3 separate regions of the Homo sapiens genome follow, and regions 1 and 2 are each linked to region 3. The links are contacts of gene promoters, found by promoter capture Hi-C in blood cells and fetal thymus (Javierre and others, 2016). All regions are on one chromosome and are shown on one strand. The core of a region is centred on a gene start or on the middle of the fragment in contact, and the rest is flanking DNA. Distances in the headings are between cores, read along the strand shown.

Region 1 (4,759 bases), core at 1,851-4,350, 1.5 Mb before region 3:
ATGTACAGTAGTCATTGGTGACATGGAACTGGAGCAAAACTGAAGGTTAAGACTGAATATATAAATTTTTGGAGTGGTTGACAAATCAATGAGAAAAGGCAAGATCTATGGAGAGCTCTAATGAGAGAATGGAGGGAGGAGTTTCCAGGTCTGGTGATGGGGACTCCTACAGTTGAAGGAACAGGGCCACATCAGGGGTAGAACAGACTCAAAGCCAGACTGCCTGGAACTGCTGCATGCTCCATAGCTTATGAGCTGTGTGTCCTCAGGCAAACTAGTCAAACTCTCTGAATCCATTTCCCCATTTTCAAAATGAGAAGTAATAATGTTACCTACCTTGTTGGATTGTTGTAGAATTTATGAGTTCACATGTGTTAACTGACATGCATAAACAAGAATACATGCAAACAGTAACAGTACCTGGTAATGTGCTAAACGTTATAGAGGTGTTAGCTTTTATTACTAATATTATATTGATGGTTGGGAAGAAAGGAAGGAGGAAGGGAAGAAAGGAAGGAGGAAAGGAAGGAAAAAAGGAGGAAAAAGAAAAATCTCTAAAGATTGGAAAAGCACATGACAACATAGAAGTATGTTTGTTATATTGATGTGGATTACCATTTATAGAGATATGAATTACATGATAAATAAGGCTAAGAGGATAAATGAAAGAAGAAGACGTTAATTTTAAGAAAACAGATATTGTGTTCTTGTGAAAGTGAAGCTTCTAGAAATGACTTTCTCTTCATTGCTGAAAACATTTGCTGAAAACGTCCACTAATTATTCTTCCTTTGTGTATCTCCCTCATTGCTTCCCTCCCTCCAACATAGTGCCAACCATTTAGCATGTTTTCCTCCGCCACCCACAGTTTACTTGTCAGTCCCATCTTCTCAATTGTGAGCTGATAATGGACATCTTGGCATCTTAGATATCTGTCCCAGTACTTGGCCCAGTTGCTCAACACATGTGTGTAGAACAAGTTGCTTCTTTTTGGGGAAAAGAATGGATCAATCCCAACAACTTGTAGTAGTGTCCCTTCCTTGGCCAAGTTCTTCCCTTCTGAAAGCATATTCTATCTCTCAGGCAGCCCTCAGAGCTTCCCTGTCCTAGATAAGCCCTCGGGAGGGCTAGGGGGGAGATGCCCCTTCTCCTGAGACCTCAGATGTGATTGGTGACCAGCTCTGCCTCTGTTTATTCGAAGAAAGAGCTCAGGAGGGGCTGCATCATAAGCCTTGTCTCAGATCTGTCAGAAAAACAGACAAAGCACGTCTCTAAATGACTGATGAGCAACAGCCCTGGTGGCAATGGTGTTACCATTTTACTAACAATTTAAGATTTGCAGCTCATAATGTTTACAGTATGTTCCATATAAACGTTTTATTTTTGGGAAAAAAAGTGAAAGTCAATCATACACTTGGCTATGAGAATAAGTTGTTTTCCAAACCCTAATTAAAGATACTACTACTAGTGATACGGCCAAGATTGACTGAGCGTCTGTGTGTGCTCAGCTCTGGGGTAGGCTCCACTTGCATTATACGGCATTCGTTACAATCACCCTGTGAGGCTGGCACTGGTCTTCTGCCTTTTATAGGGAAGATCTGAGTTGAGGGAGAGTAATCCATTTGGCCAAGGTCATAGGGCAGTAAGGGAAGCAGCTAGAATTAGAACTTCAGAGGGCTTTTTATTTAGCGATGGGACTTAAAAAATAGCAAGGTGTGTGTGTCCATAGAACCACTGCAGATGTCAGCAACTGATGCCAAACTGATTGGCAAGGCCACGTGGGCAGATTTTTAACAGAATGAGGCATAGTAACAGTCCATAAGGCCCCGCTGCTGCTGCTGGTCGTGGTGTGTAAGTAATGCAACTAGTAATGCTGGGAGAACACAAATCAGTCCCTTTTCTCCCCCTAGAAAACAGGAGTCAGGTTGTCATCATGAACATTCCCTCCCTCTTCCCACAGCATGCCAGAAGGAACGGCTTGACTGTGGCCACCCTTGTCTTAGGCAGTAAAGTCTCAGGGACCGCTGATTGAGATGGATAACTCGTCAATTATTGATGGAGCCAAGAATGAATTTAAACCCACTAGGATTAATCCAATTGGCTTTCCCAGAAATAGAAGTGTATTTGCAGAATCTGTTTCTGTAAGATCTCATTCATTTTTCAATGTTCCCAATATACACGACACTAACTGCAAACTGGGGCATACATTTGTGCAAGTTTGCTTCATCGAGTGAGCTGCTTTCTAAGCAGCAAGTTATAAATTTAGTGTTGTAAAGCATCACTATATTAGGATTGCTTTGTGTTTTTTTGCAGAACTAATTAACCACTGGCAATTAGCACTGTTTCGCTGCACAAATTGGCACCACTTGGCATGTTCCGTAGCCAATACTACGGATGTGATGATATCATTTATATTTCACGTGCCATCTGCCTTTATACAAAGATAAAGCAGAATGAAGAGACTCTTCAGCCATTTCTTACTTTCTTAGCTACAGGAAGCTTAATTAAAACAAAAATGGCAATTTGCAACACTTACCACTCCTCTTTTGGAGAAAGGCCATCTTGGCTTTTTGGATTCTGGGTGAAATTAAAGACAATATATTATTACGAGTACTTAGAGTAACTAGCGACAGATCATCGTAGTGCTTTACAAAACCTGCTTTTTGAAAATTAGCCAAACAGAATTCATCCTGCTTTAATTCTCTTTCTCTTGAGAATGCACAAAATGAATATTTATATTTTTGCAGACAAGTGAATGAAACAATGTTGCAACCTAAAAGTTGGTGTTCTGTTGCTGCCTTAAGGTGGTACTGTCCTGTTTCTTTACTGGTGTATTATTTAAACTCTTTTTCCTCATTGCTTGAAAGGAAATCTATAAACTGTACTGAAGATGTTGAGTAATTTATTTAAGACAGGGAGCCAAAGCACTCTGGGGCTAAAAGGACAGGCCCTTCATTTTCACACCATCTTTCCAGAACGCCCCCATCACATGCAAACTTCAATAGCTTGAGCAAATGGGAGACTTGGAAACTGCATTCACTCATAATCCCCAGATGTGGTTAAATGAAGACTCCCAAAATAGGGAACATTAAAACATCACCCATGTCGGGGCTTCTTGCTACTGGCCATCTTCTAGGAGTTGCTTTGACTTGAGAAGGAAGCCGTTATTCAATCCCTCATTATTTGGAAGACCAGGAAGGAAAGAGATTCGATTGGATTCTAGCCTTTTGAATTTTATGCTGTTTGCATAAAGTTGTAATGCTACCTAGCCAAAGCTGAAAATTGTCTCTTAGGTGTGGGTGGCATGTTCTGACCATTCAGCATACAAAATGGATGTCTTATACGTCCATCTCTCTCTCTATCAGATCCCCCAGGAGAGTGTGCATAATAATTCAATCAAAGGGAAGCAATGAACTGAGCAGCATTTACTGCAAAGGATGTGCTTAAGGCACCTTCCCACTGTAACCTTGGGAGGCACCTGCCCAACAGATTATCCTCTCATTCATTTTGACCAGCTTATTGATCTTTATTAAAGAGAGATTAGGTGGACTCTCCCTTAGGCACAAATCAGCTTCACCACACTTAGATTTCACATGCCTGGCAGTAAATTATTACATCCAATTTGAACTGCAATAATTGGGGTCCCTGATCCTTGGCCAATTTCTCTCCTGTGCTTTTCTAGCTTTGGAGCCTTGGGAAAGCTTTGTAAATATTCAGAAGATTCATGAGTCCTTATTGAATCCACAATCTTTCATTATCTGCCTTAAATATACAATTTTGCTAAGCCAGAATCTTTATTTCAACTATATCTGCAGGTGACTCATATGCACAGCAAAGCGTGAGCAGCACTGCTTTAGACCGTGACTTGGGAACATGAGGCCTCTATTCTAAACTCCTGAGAAGAGGGCAGAGGGGTATAGGGAGGAGGCTGCTTATCTTTTGCTGTGTGGTATCTACCACGATGCTAGGCACACACAAAAATAACAGCTAGTGAGATGTAGAAGCAGCGATGAACTTGTTCCTTAGCATGTGGTTCTCAAACTGTAGCCGGCATCAAAATCACCTGCAGAACTTGTTAAAAAAGACTGCTGGCTGGGCACAGCGGCTTGCGCCTGTAATCCCAGCACCTTGGGAAGCCAAGGCAGGTGGATTACCTAAGGTCAGGAGTTCGACACCACCCTGACCAATATGTTGAAACTTCGTCTCTACTAAAAGTACAAAAAAATTAGCCAGGCGTGGTGGTGGCCACAGAGTGAGACTCTGTCTCAAACAACAACCACCACCACCACCACAACAAACAAAATGGACTAACAGACTGCTGGACACCACCCCCAGAGTTTCTGATTCAGAAGGTCTTGGGGGTGGGCAGCCTGGAATCTGCATTTCTAACAACTTCTCAGGTGATGGCAAAGCTGCTAGTTCGGGACAGCCTTTGAGAACCACTGTTGTAGTTGTTAACTAATTGACAGCATTCTAAAGCCTCTTAAAATGTAGTAACCTCTGTTAAGGCCACATTGTGTTTAGAACTAGCTCAGATTTCTAGGGGCATGTCCTCAAGCAGATCACTTAATCCCTCTTGGTTTGTTCACTTGGATTACTGTATCATATAAGACAGTAAGTAGATGTGAAAGGCTCTGTAAAAATAAAGAGCTATAAACATGTTAGTTATGATGTATTCACTGGTGGTCCTGGGCTCCACGTACAGGAGACTGCAGCTGCCCATACAATAGATGACAGATGATAACAGATGCAGACTGGTAG
Region 2 (4,886 bases), core at 153-2,652, 1.5 Mb before region 3:
TTGTGTATTATGAAGCTGCTGGATAGAATGTTTTGTAAATGTCTGTGTCTAGGGTGCACTTTAAGTCCAATGCTTCTTTGTTCTTTTCTGTCTAGATGATCTTTCTATTGTTGAAAGTGGGTTGTTAAAGTCCCTTAATATTATTGCATTGTGGCTGGTCTCTTTTTGTAGATTTAATAGTATTTGCTTTATATATTTGGGTGCTCTTGTGTTGGGTATATATACATTTCTGATTGTAATATCCTCTTGCTGAATCAATCCCTTTACCATTACATAATGACTGTTTTAATCTCTTCATTTTTTTCTCTACTCCCATGACAGATTACTACTTTGTTTCTTTTTTACAATTTTTTCTTTCTTTGTATGGTTTTTGACTTAATCTCTATCTAAATAAATAACTTGACTTAAACTCTAGCTAAACAAATAACTAAGGTTATTATTGATAGGTAAGAACTTACTCCTATTTTGTTAATTGTTTTCTGGTTGTGTCATAGATCCTTTGCCCTTTTCTTCCTCTCTTTACCATTTTGGTTTCATGCTTTTCTGTGGTGCTAAGCTTTGATTCCTTTCTCTTTCTAATTTGTGTATCTTTTGGAATTTCTTTCTTTGTGATTATTGTGGGGTTGACATAAAGTCTTGTAGTTATAATAGACTATTTTAAGGTGATAACAGTTTAGCTTTGGTCACAAAAAATACTCGAGGCCCCCGCCCCCCACCCAGTTTATATTTTTATTGTCTTAATTTACATCTTTATCTATTGTGTTACTTTAGACTGATTGTAGCTATTGTTATTTTTGACCATTTTGACTTTTAACCTTCATACTAGAGGCTTGAAAGAGTTCCATAATACTATTCTAGTACTAGAGTGTTCTGAGTTTGATTATGAATTTACCTCTACTAGTGACTTTTATACCTTCACATGTTTTTATTATAGTAATTATCCTTTTCCTTCTAATTGTAGCACAAGAATTTCTTGTAAGGCTGGTCTAGTAGTGATGAATTCCCTCAGCTTTTGCTTGTATGGAAAATATTTTATTTCTTTTTCATTTCTGAAGTATTAGTATAGTATTTTTGGTTACTAGCTTTTTTTCTCCTTCCAGCACTTTGAATCCATCATCCCATTCTCTTTTGGCCTGCAAGGTTTCTGCTGAGAACTCTGATAATCTAATGGAGAGTTTCTTATATGTAACTTGTCAGTTTTTTCTTGCTGCCAAAACTAGTATATTAAACAAGGCAAATAGAGCCATGTAATTTACAAATTACTGTCACATGTATTTTCTTATTTAATTTTTACCTTTGCTATAGGTATTATTCTCATTTGCAAAATAGGAAAACTGAGGTTCAGAAGATTACACTTTTGTGATAGGTACCTTATAGGTTTTTAGGGGACAGGAGACACTATATGATTTTAGATGGAACTTTCTCTTGGACTAACAATAACTAATGCATATTGGGTGCTTTCTATGTGCCATGCTTTATAATGGTGTGTTCTATGTTTTACTTGATCTACAAAACATCCTGAAGAGGTAGTAAATATTACTATTCCCCTTGTGCAAATGGAAAGACAATCTTACCGAGGGTAAATAACTTGACTAAGTCACACTTAATTTTAAGGTATAATGGAGCTAGGATTCAGATCCAGATTGGTTTCAATCTGAGAGCACTTGTTCTTAGTCTGTGTGGACATGATCTTTGGAGATGGTGCATCTGAGCAGTATCTGAACCCTTCAGAGAAGGGAATTTTTGCCTTTGGCTACCTAGTTTCTGTACTCAGCAAAAACACAGAAAGAAACAGCAAAAAAGACTCCACTGAAGGCTTGAATCCTTCAACCCAAGTGTCTCTGTGATTTTTTTTCTGTAGAATAAGAGTTACTTATATCCTATTTGTCATATCAATTGCTATTGAAGATTTATTTTGCAATGCCCTATTATTTCCAGAAAGGATTTTAGGAAGCTATAAGGGCCTATAGGAGATCTCACATAATCCCATAAGTAGTTTTATATCCATAGGAAAGGCAGGCCTTTCCTAAGAAGCCAGCCTCTAAGTAGATAATTTTAAGTTAATTGGGACATTCTGCATTCTGTTATTCTTATCATACAAAAGGCCCTGGTGCAGTCCCAGTTTGAGACATCTTCCTACTTCTTCAACACAAAAAATTACTCTGAATAAGAGCAAAATGTTACAAATTGTTTTGACAACATTCAAATGGTATAGAAATACATAAAGCAAAAATGAAATCAAAGCTTTTCTACAATTGGATTTTAGCATCTCAGTGGTTCAGGAGATCAAACATTGAACAAGGTTGATGAGGAGAATATAATATGAATTTCTCCTCTTCAACCAAGCACTTACTGGATTTTATTGTAATGGAAACAAAGTCCACTTGCTTTCCTCTTTAGCTTTATGTAGAATGATCCTCAAAAGGCTGAGCAGGTGCCATGGGACTCACCTTCTAGGCAGACATATTGTCAGTCACCTTCTATATGTGGTTTGTTGATCTCAAGCTTCAGTCAAGGGCTGCTCTGTGCTTTAATGATGAATGGTGCAGCAGTTCACCGTTATTTTTGGTGCCAGTGTTACCAAAACACCAGGGATTTGGCCTAGGTCCTGCTGCCCACCACACAGAAAACCAATAATTGAGACGATGAACATAGCCAGGAAAGAAGGCTTTAATTGGGTGCTCCAGCCAAGGAGTTGGGAGATCAGTCTCAAATCCGTCTCCCTGACTGACTAAAATTAGGGGTTTATATAGCAGGGAAGAAATGTATGGGAAAACAGGAACTAGGGAGGGGCAAGGAAGCAATCATGATGAATGAGGGGTCTGGTGTCTCATTGTCTGGATACGATGATCTGGTGAGTTTTAATTTTTTGATACTTTTTGAGAGGTCTGGGAGTCCTTTCCTGAAGAAGGAACTCAGATAAAACAAATGAAATTTCAAACATGAAGACCCAAAGGGTCAATTTTTATGTTTTTCCAAGAAAAAAACTGCCTATGGGACTATTGGGTTGGTTTCATCAGCATGATTCTTTCTTGTTCCGAAGAAGTTACTTGTGTATGAAATAGAGTTGAATGTCACAATGTTATTCAGAAATACAAAGTTCTCAGCGTTTGTAAATTTTGGGTTTTTTTTTGGTAACAGCTTTATTAAGATGTGATTCATATTGCATATAATTTACATACCATGTAATTCATCTACCTAAAGTGTACAATTCAATGGTTTTTAATATACTCATAGAGTTTGCAACCATCACCATAATCGATTGTAGAATATTTTTATCACTCTGAAAAGAAATCCTGCATCCTTTAGTTATCACTCTCTCATCTTCCCATTTCCTCTCTTGCTCCCAGCCTTAGGCAACCACTAATCTAGTTTCTGTCTCTATATATTTGCCTATTATGGACATTTAATATGAATGAAACTTTCTAATATGTGGACTTGGCTGTCTGTGAGTAGGCAGTATGCTGTGGTGGCTAAGAGCAAGGGGCAGATTTGGTTTCAACTCCTTGCTTTCTGGCCTACTACCTGTGCAACCACGTGCAGAACCCAACCTAATTTAAAGCTTTCTTTCTTGCCAAATGAAGATTTTTAAATAATTTTCCTTTATTTAAAAAATGTTTTAATTTTGCGATCATTTCAAACTTATAGAAAAGTTGCAAGAATGGTGCAAAGAATCCTTGTGTACTGCACCCCATATGTTCCAGTTGTTAATAATACTTACATTTACTTTGTCATTCTCTCAGTCTCTCTGTATCTGTGTTTATATATTTTTCAAACCATTTGAAAGTAAATTACAGAATTTTCTTTACCCCTAAGTATGTTAGTGTGTATTTCTGATAAATACACTTTTTTTTGGTATATAACCACAGAAGAGTTATCAAAATTAGGAAATTAACATTGATGTAATACTATTATCTAATTAAATGTTGTCAATTGCCCCAATAATGTTGAGGATCACCTGCTAGCTTTAGTGATTTTTAATCTATGACAATTTCTTAGGAATTATTTGCTTTTATGACCTTGACATTCTGAAGAGAATTGACCACTTATTTTATAGAATACCTCCCAATTTGGCTTTTTCTGATGTTTTTGAGGTTATGCATTTTTGCATTAAATTCTTTTTAGCCCTTCCATATAAGTCAGTTTGTCCCACAACTGTTGATAACTCTGATGTATCAAGATGGTATCTGCCAGGTTTCTCCACTATGAAACTACCACTTTTTTCCTTTGCAATAATTGTCTTGTGGGGAGATACTTTGAGAACATTTACCAAAATATCCTATTCTCATCAAGCTTTCACAAGTTTTAGCATCCATTGACAATCTGTGGCAATCAATTATTACTCTGATGGTTGCCACATGTTGATTTTATAACTTCTATTATTCTTTCCAGATTTATTATTTGCATTCTAATGCAAGGCAGATCTTTTCCATTATAACCATTATTATGTCATTATTTATTTTTGCTCAAATTATTCTCAGATTTGGCCAGTGATGTCTTCTCAGTCTGAGTCCTGTGTTGTTTTGGCACGTTGCTGTCATTCTTTAAGCATTTTCTTACTTTCTGGTGCAAAAGTATATTTATATATATACACACTGATGATATATATATATATGATTATATATACATAGACTGATATATATATACACACACGTACATATATGTGTGTGTATATGTATATATACACACACACACACTTCCATATCATTTTCTATATCTTTCTATCCACGTATATGCAAAGTCATAGTACCTCCAATTCCAGTCCAATTCCGCAAGGTTCATTTTGGATTTGTACCTCCTTTTTTGGACAGTGAGAAACCTGGCTTCCTTTATTTGCATTCTACTTATTTATTTACTCAAATTTGCTTTTTCTCCACTGTAAGTGA
Region 3 (4,615 bases), core at 1,846-4,345:
TTCTGTATTCAAAGTGCCCTCAGTTCCACGCTAGTCATCTTTCTTGGCTAGGGAAGAACTCTGTCTACAGTGGCAACTACAGAGCCAGACAATTCACACCAGACCCAGATCTGACTTTGCAGAGTCAGTCTACAGACAAACCAGTCACATCAGGATTGTGAAGATAATCACTTGCCTCTAGACCTCTTAGAAAGTAAAGGGGTGTCAGAAGGAGACCTTTCTAAGCTCTGGCATTCTTCATATCCTTAATGGGCAGGTACAATTAAATACTTTGTATGTGATGTCAATGAGAGAGAATGGCCCTGAAATGAACTTCGACAATGTGCAGAATACAGTTAACCCTGTTAGCTAGTGGGTTGTCAGTAGAAATCAAAGTTTAAGTAGTTTAACAGTAGATGTGGGATGTGCTCTGAATTGGAATATTTCACATATCTATATGTCAGCCAGGGATTCAGGGAATCCTACCCCAAACATTCCAAGCCAGAATGACTTTAAGCAATCTGTGCACAGTGCTGTTTCTAGTCTTAAAATGGTTCCATTTCATGTTGGATTGCAAGAGACCTGGTTTCTGGTCATAGTGTCATGACCTCTTGGTGACTTAACTGCGTATGACTTTGTTGGGACATAGTTTCTTCTACTGAAAAATGAGTATGACGATAGATGTAACTTGTGATTAAAGATGCAGCTTTTAAATATGATGATGTTTGGTAAAATGCTTGAGATTTTGGAGGTGAGTTTCTTTCCAAACAACAACAACAAAAAGAAAATTTTTATTTGTTCCTGAACAAATTAAATAAAGTTTTAAAAGCATTGCAACTTGGTCATGGTTTGTAAAATAGTCTGAAAAGATGTTATCTCAAAACTTTGATAATTACTTTTCTATATGTAAGAATTTGCTTCCTCTTTCTTAAGATACATTATAGTTTAGTATAGTTTAGTAATGAAAAGTGGATTAGGCATGAGAAGACCTGGATATTAGTTTCTGCTTTGTTTCTTGCCAGCTCTGTGAACTTGGGCAAGTCACTGGGCTTCAATTTTCTCATTTGTAAAACAGAAATAGTAAATATGACTTATCTTGTCTAACTCAAAGGATTGTTTTGAAATATGTCAAGACATAATAAAAGCTTGCATTTACAGAGATTTTCACTTATAAGGATTAAGTTCTGAGTTAAGTGTTTTATATATATTGCCTTATTTAATCTCCACTCCAACACTATGAGTTAGGTAAGAATTTGTATCCATTTTTCAGATATGGAAACTGAAATTCAGAGAGGTTAAGCAAGTTGCCTGAGTTCATATAGCTTACTATCGGGGGGAAGGAACAAGATCTAAATCTTAACCATAATGGTTCTGCTTTTATAAAAGTAAAATTATCTACATAAAAAGGCATTATGTCTTTTTTTCTCCTCCTCCTCATTTTTCTTCTTCTACTTTTTCTTTAATACTTCCTTTTCTCTCTCTCTGTCTTGTAATGATGGCCATAATTTGTCATATACACTTTAGTAGGGTTAAGTTTTGATAAACAGTAAGCCAGGATTGGGGCAAAACACCAGTCCGGGTACGGTCCATAGCCAATCATTTGATTGTCTTTACTAATTTAGCAAATGTATCTTGGTAACTTAGTATATACCATGGCTATTCTGGGTGCAGGGATTCTACAAACATGAACACAATGTCATTCCTCCCTTGGAGTAAGACACGTACATAAATAATTATAATATGAGGCAGGAGTGATTATATGTCATCAAAAAGAGATAAATGCCATATAAGGAGAGTTCAGAAAGGAAATTAATAAATTCCAAGTAAAGGGGATCATGGACTTTTGCACCAATGTCCAGGGACAATAGTGCTTGCCTTTGTCTAAACTATCAGAATAACTAGATATGTGGTTATTAAATGTTAAGGAGATGCAGAGTAGGGTAAATTGTTTATCTGAGAGGCTGGGCTTAGGAAATAAGGCAAACTATAACGTGGTAACACGCCTCCCCCTCCTTAGATACCACTTGAGAATTTAATTTCTCTAAGTTTTTTTGAGGAAAAAGAATATTTACTGTGGAAGAATATACTTTGATGGCTGGAGGAGGGAAGGAAGGAGGCTGGAGGATGGGAGGGGGATCATCTCATGTTTCAAACTGTTGATTTCCAGTTTCCACCTGGTAACAGCCTAGGGGCCAGAGCATAATGATACAAGTCAAAACACAGAGACCTACACAGAGACAACTAACAGCATCCAGCAAGGGAATTATAAAAGCTCAAAAAAGATTTCCAGTGGCTAAATAAATACCTTTCCTTGTAGTTGCACTTGTTTTTCTTTTCATTTACTGAAATTTGGAAAGACACATAGACTCTATTGCCTTTTCAAAGTTCTAGTTTACATAAAAGTATAATCTATGAAAATCAAATTTTTCATATATAGAGGATGAAACTATGTTGTGATCAACTACAGGTTATCTATGTATTTTATTTAAAAACTGGTGGACAGGGAGAAAGATTTTAAACTATGATTAATGAAAGTGATAGATGACATACTTTTCATATAAAACCATGACTTTCTTTCAGGACACTTTAGAAATATGTCCAAAATATACAGAAAAACTCCACAGCATAGTGCTTGAATTTACACAAACATTCCAAGGCAAGTAGGAATCCGAATGAGTAGTTTCACATAAGGCTACTCATTTATTTTTGCAGTCCACATTTAAAACAACTACAAGATTAATTTCATTCCATTTTTCTGGACTTACACATCCCAAAAGCAAGAAAAAAATGTCATTTTGGAAGTATAATAAATGCTACTTGTAAACAAGGCTAGAAAGGGTGGAGAATGAAATGAGATGGGGGGTGGGGAAACAAACCCTTTAGTTACAATATCTTAGGGAAATGAATCTACAATAAGACAAATTTCAAATCAAGTTGCTCCACTATACTGCATAAGCAGTTTAGAATCTTAAGCAGATGCAAAAAGAATAAAGCAAATGGGAGGAAAAAAAAGGCCGATAAAGTTTCTGGCTACAATACAAGAGACATATCATTACCATATGATCTAATGTGGGTGTCAGCCGGATTGTGTTCATTGAGGGAAACCTTATTTTTTAACTGTGCTATGGAGTAGAAGCAGGAGGTTTTCAACCTAGTCACAGAGCAGCACCTACCCCCTCCTCCTTTCCACACCTGCAAACTCTTTTACTTGGGCTGAATATTTAGTGTAATTACATCTCAGCTTTGAGGGCTCCTGTGGCAAATTCCCGGATTAAAAGGTATGGTTTTCAATAATTGTCCTGAACTCTGCTACAGACTAATAAAACTTCGGTCAAGTTGCGAGCAAAAGGGATTATTTGGTGAGAAAAAGAAAAGGAAAAAAAAAACTGTTAAACTTTTATAGTTTTTATGCAACATTTTAAACAAGTATTATTTGAAAACAGAAGTTAAATATTTGATAAAATGATTGAATGCATTGTTTTATTTCTTTCTCTTCTGTTTTTGCAAAGATGCTTCTTAAAAAACTGTAACCTAACACCATGACTCTCTATATTAATGTTTTTGTGTTTGTATTAATGAATGTTTAGCTCTTCAAGAGATGGTAACCGAAAAGTATTCTGAAGTAGCATATCTGTAATTGACCTATATATTTAAAAAATGTATTTTTCTCCTGAATTTTTGATTGCTTTAAGGACTTTTAAAAGCCCAGAAGAACTGAACTCTGGTGATTAGCTGAAAATACCTAATGTATATTTCTTCAACCCCAGAAATGAACAGAAATTATCACCAGAGAAGTGAAAATAAACATTGAAAATATTTATGTTATTAAATGCCTAAGATACTAAAAACGCTGTATAATTTCTTAAATGTAAAGTGTCCCAGTCAGTATCTTCACTGCAAGTGAAATTTTAAGATACATTCACTATAAAATGAGGATGTGGGTTAATTTTCTAATTTTAAAACAGGGTAACACAGTGACCACTGATTAAGTGGGCTCCCAGTGATGTAAATACCTGTGGCTTTTTTTTTTCCTGTTGCTGTTTCTAACCAGAAAAGAGCCAAATGCCTCCTATAGTAACCCTTGTTTGTGGATAAATGCCGCCTTTATTCTTTATTTTAAAATTACATATATTATAATTGAAGTTTTTAATCATCTAGTGCTGTAGGATTTTAATTTTGTTTTGCATTTATAGCTTCACTTATCTCTTGAGGGTTAAATTTTGACTTTGAAAGTGACACCAGAGGCATAGATAACATAATGCAAATGTTGATCTGGATGACATACTTCATTTAATGGGCTTAACTAGTTTTAGGAACCAGAAATTATTATTTTTGGTAAAACATTTGTAAACTATGGCAACTAGCTTCAGTGGAGTAGTGATATTACATTAGTAATTAGCATCTTGGACATTGTCATGCATTTTTAGACTACTTAAAACAGTTTCAGTATAATTTAAACAGCATATCATCTCAATAACAATCTCTTTGGTTACTACTTGGACAGCTGCTCTTTGCTCTTTATATTTCTGATTAATTAAGGAAAGAAGGAAATGACGAAAGGAATTATCAGTATTGACAGCCCACATTAAATGTTTTAAGATGCTGGGTCTTGAAGTACCATGACACTAATTTAAAA

Evidence for each region. The method cuts DNA at HindIII sites, captures the fragments that hold promoters and counts their contacts. A CHiCAGO score of 5 or more calls a contact.
Region 1: a contact is called between a fragment that was not itself captured here and the fragment with the promoter of DCN in region 3, in 4 of 17 cell types (total CD4 T cells, naive CD4 T cells, naive CD8 T cells and 1 more). The highest score is 8.2, in total CD4 T cells.
Region 2: a fragment that was not itself captured here is called in contact with the fragment with the promoter of DCN in region 3 in 2 of 17 cell types (total B cells and naive CD4 T cells); the score reaches 7.0 in total B cells.

The regions. Positions count from the first base shown.
Region 1 is chr12:92,730,049-92,734,807 of GRCh38, reverse strand. PLEKHG7 (pleckstrin homology and RhoGEF domain containing G7) reads right to left here. Exons shown (of 17, transcript NM_001377329.1): 5 at 2,535-2,575. Among named protein-coding and RNA genes, the nearest start is that of PLEKHG7, 29 kb to the right of the region's middle. The HindIII fragment of the contact is 1,202 bases long and covers 2,500-3,701 here.
Region 2 is chr12:92,641,039-92,645,924 of GRCh38, reverse strand. All of the region lies in intron 1 of LOC124902983 (a long non-coding RNA gene), which reads left to right. Among named protein-coding and RNA genes, the nearest start is that of PLEKHG7, 60 kb to the left of the region's middle. The HindIII fragment of the contact is 1,688 bases long and covers 559-2,246 here.
Region 3 is chr12:91,181,297-91,185,911 of GRCh38, reverse strand. It overlaps DCN (decorin), which reads left to right and starts at 3,095. Exons shown (of 8, transcript NM_001920.5): 1 at 3,095-3,257. The HindIII fragment of the contact is 3,983 bases long and covers 1,127-4,615 here.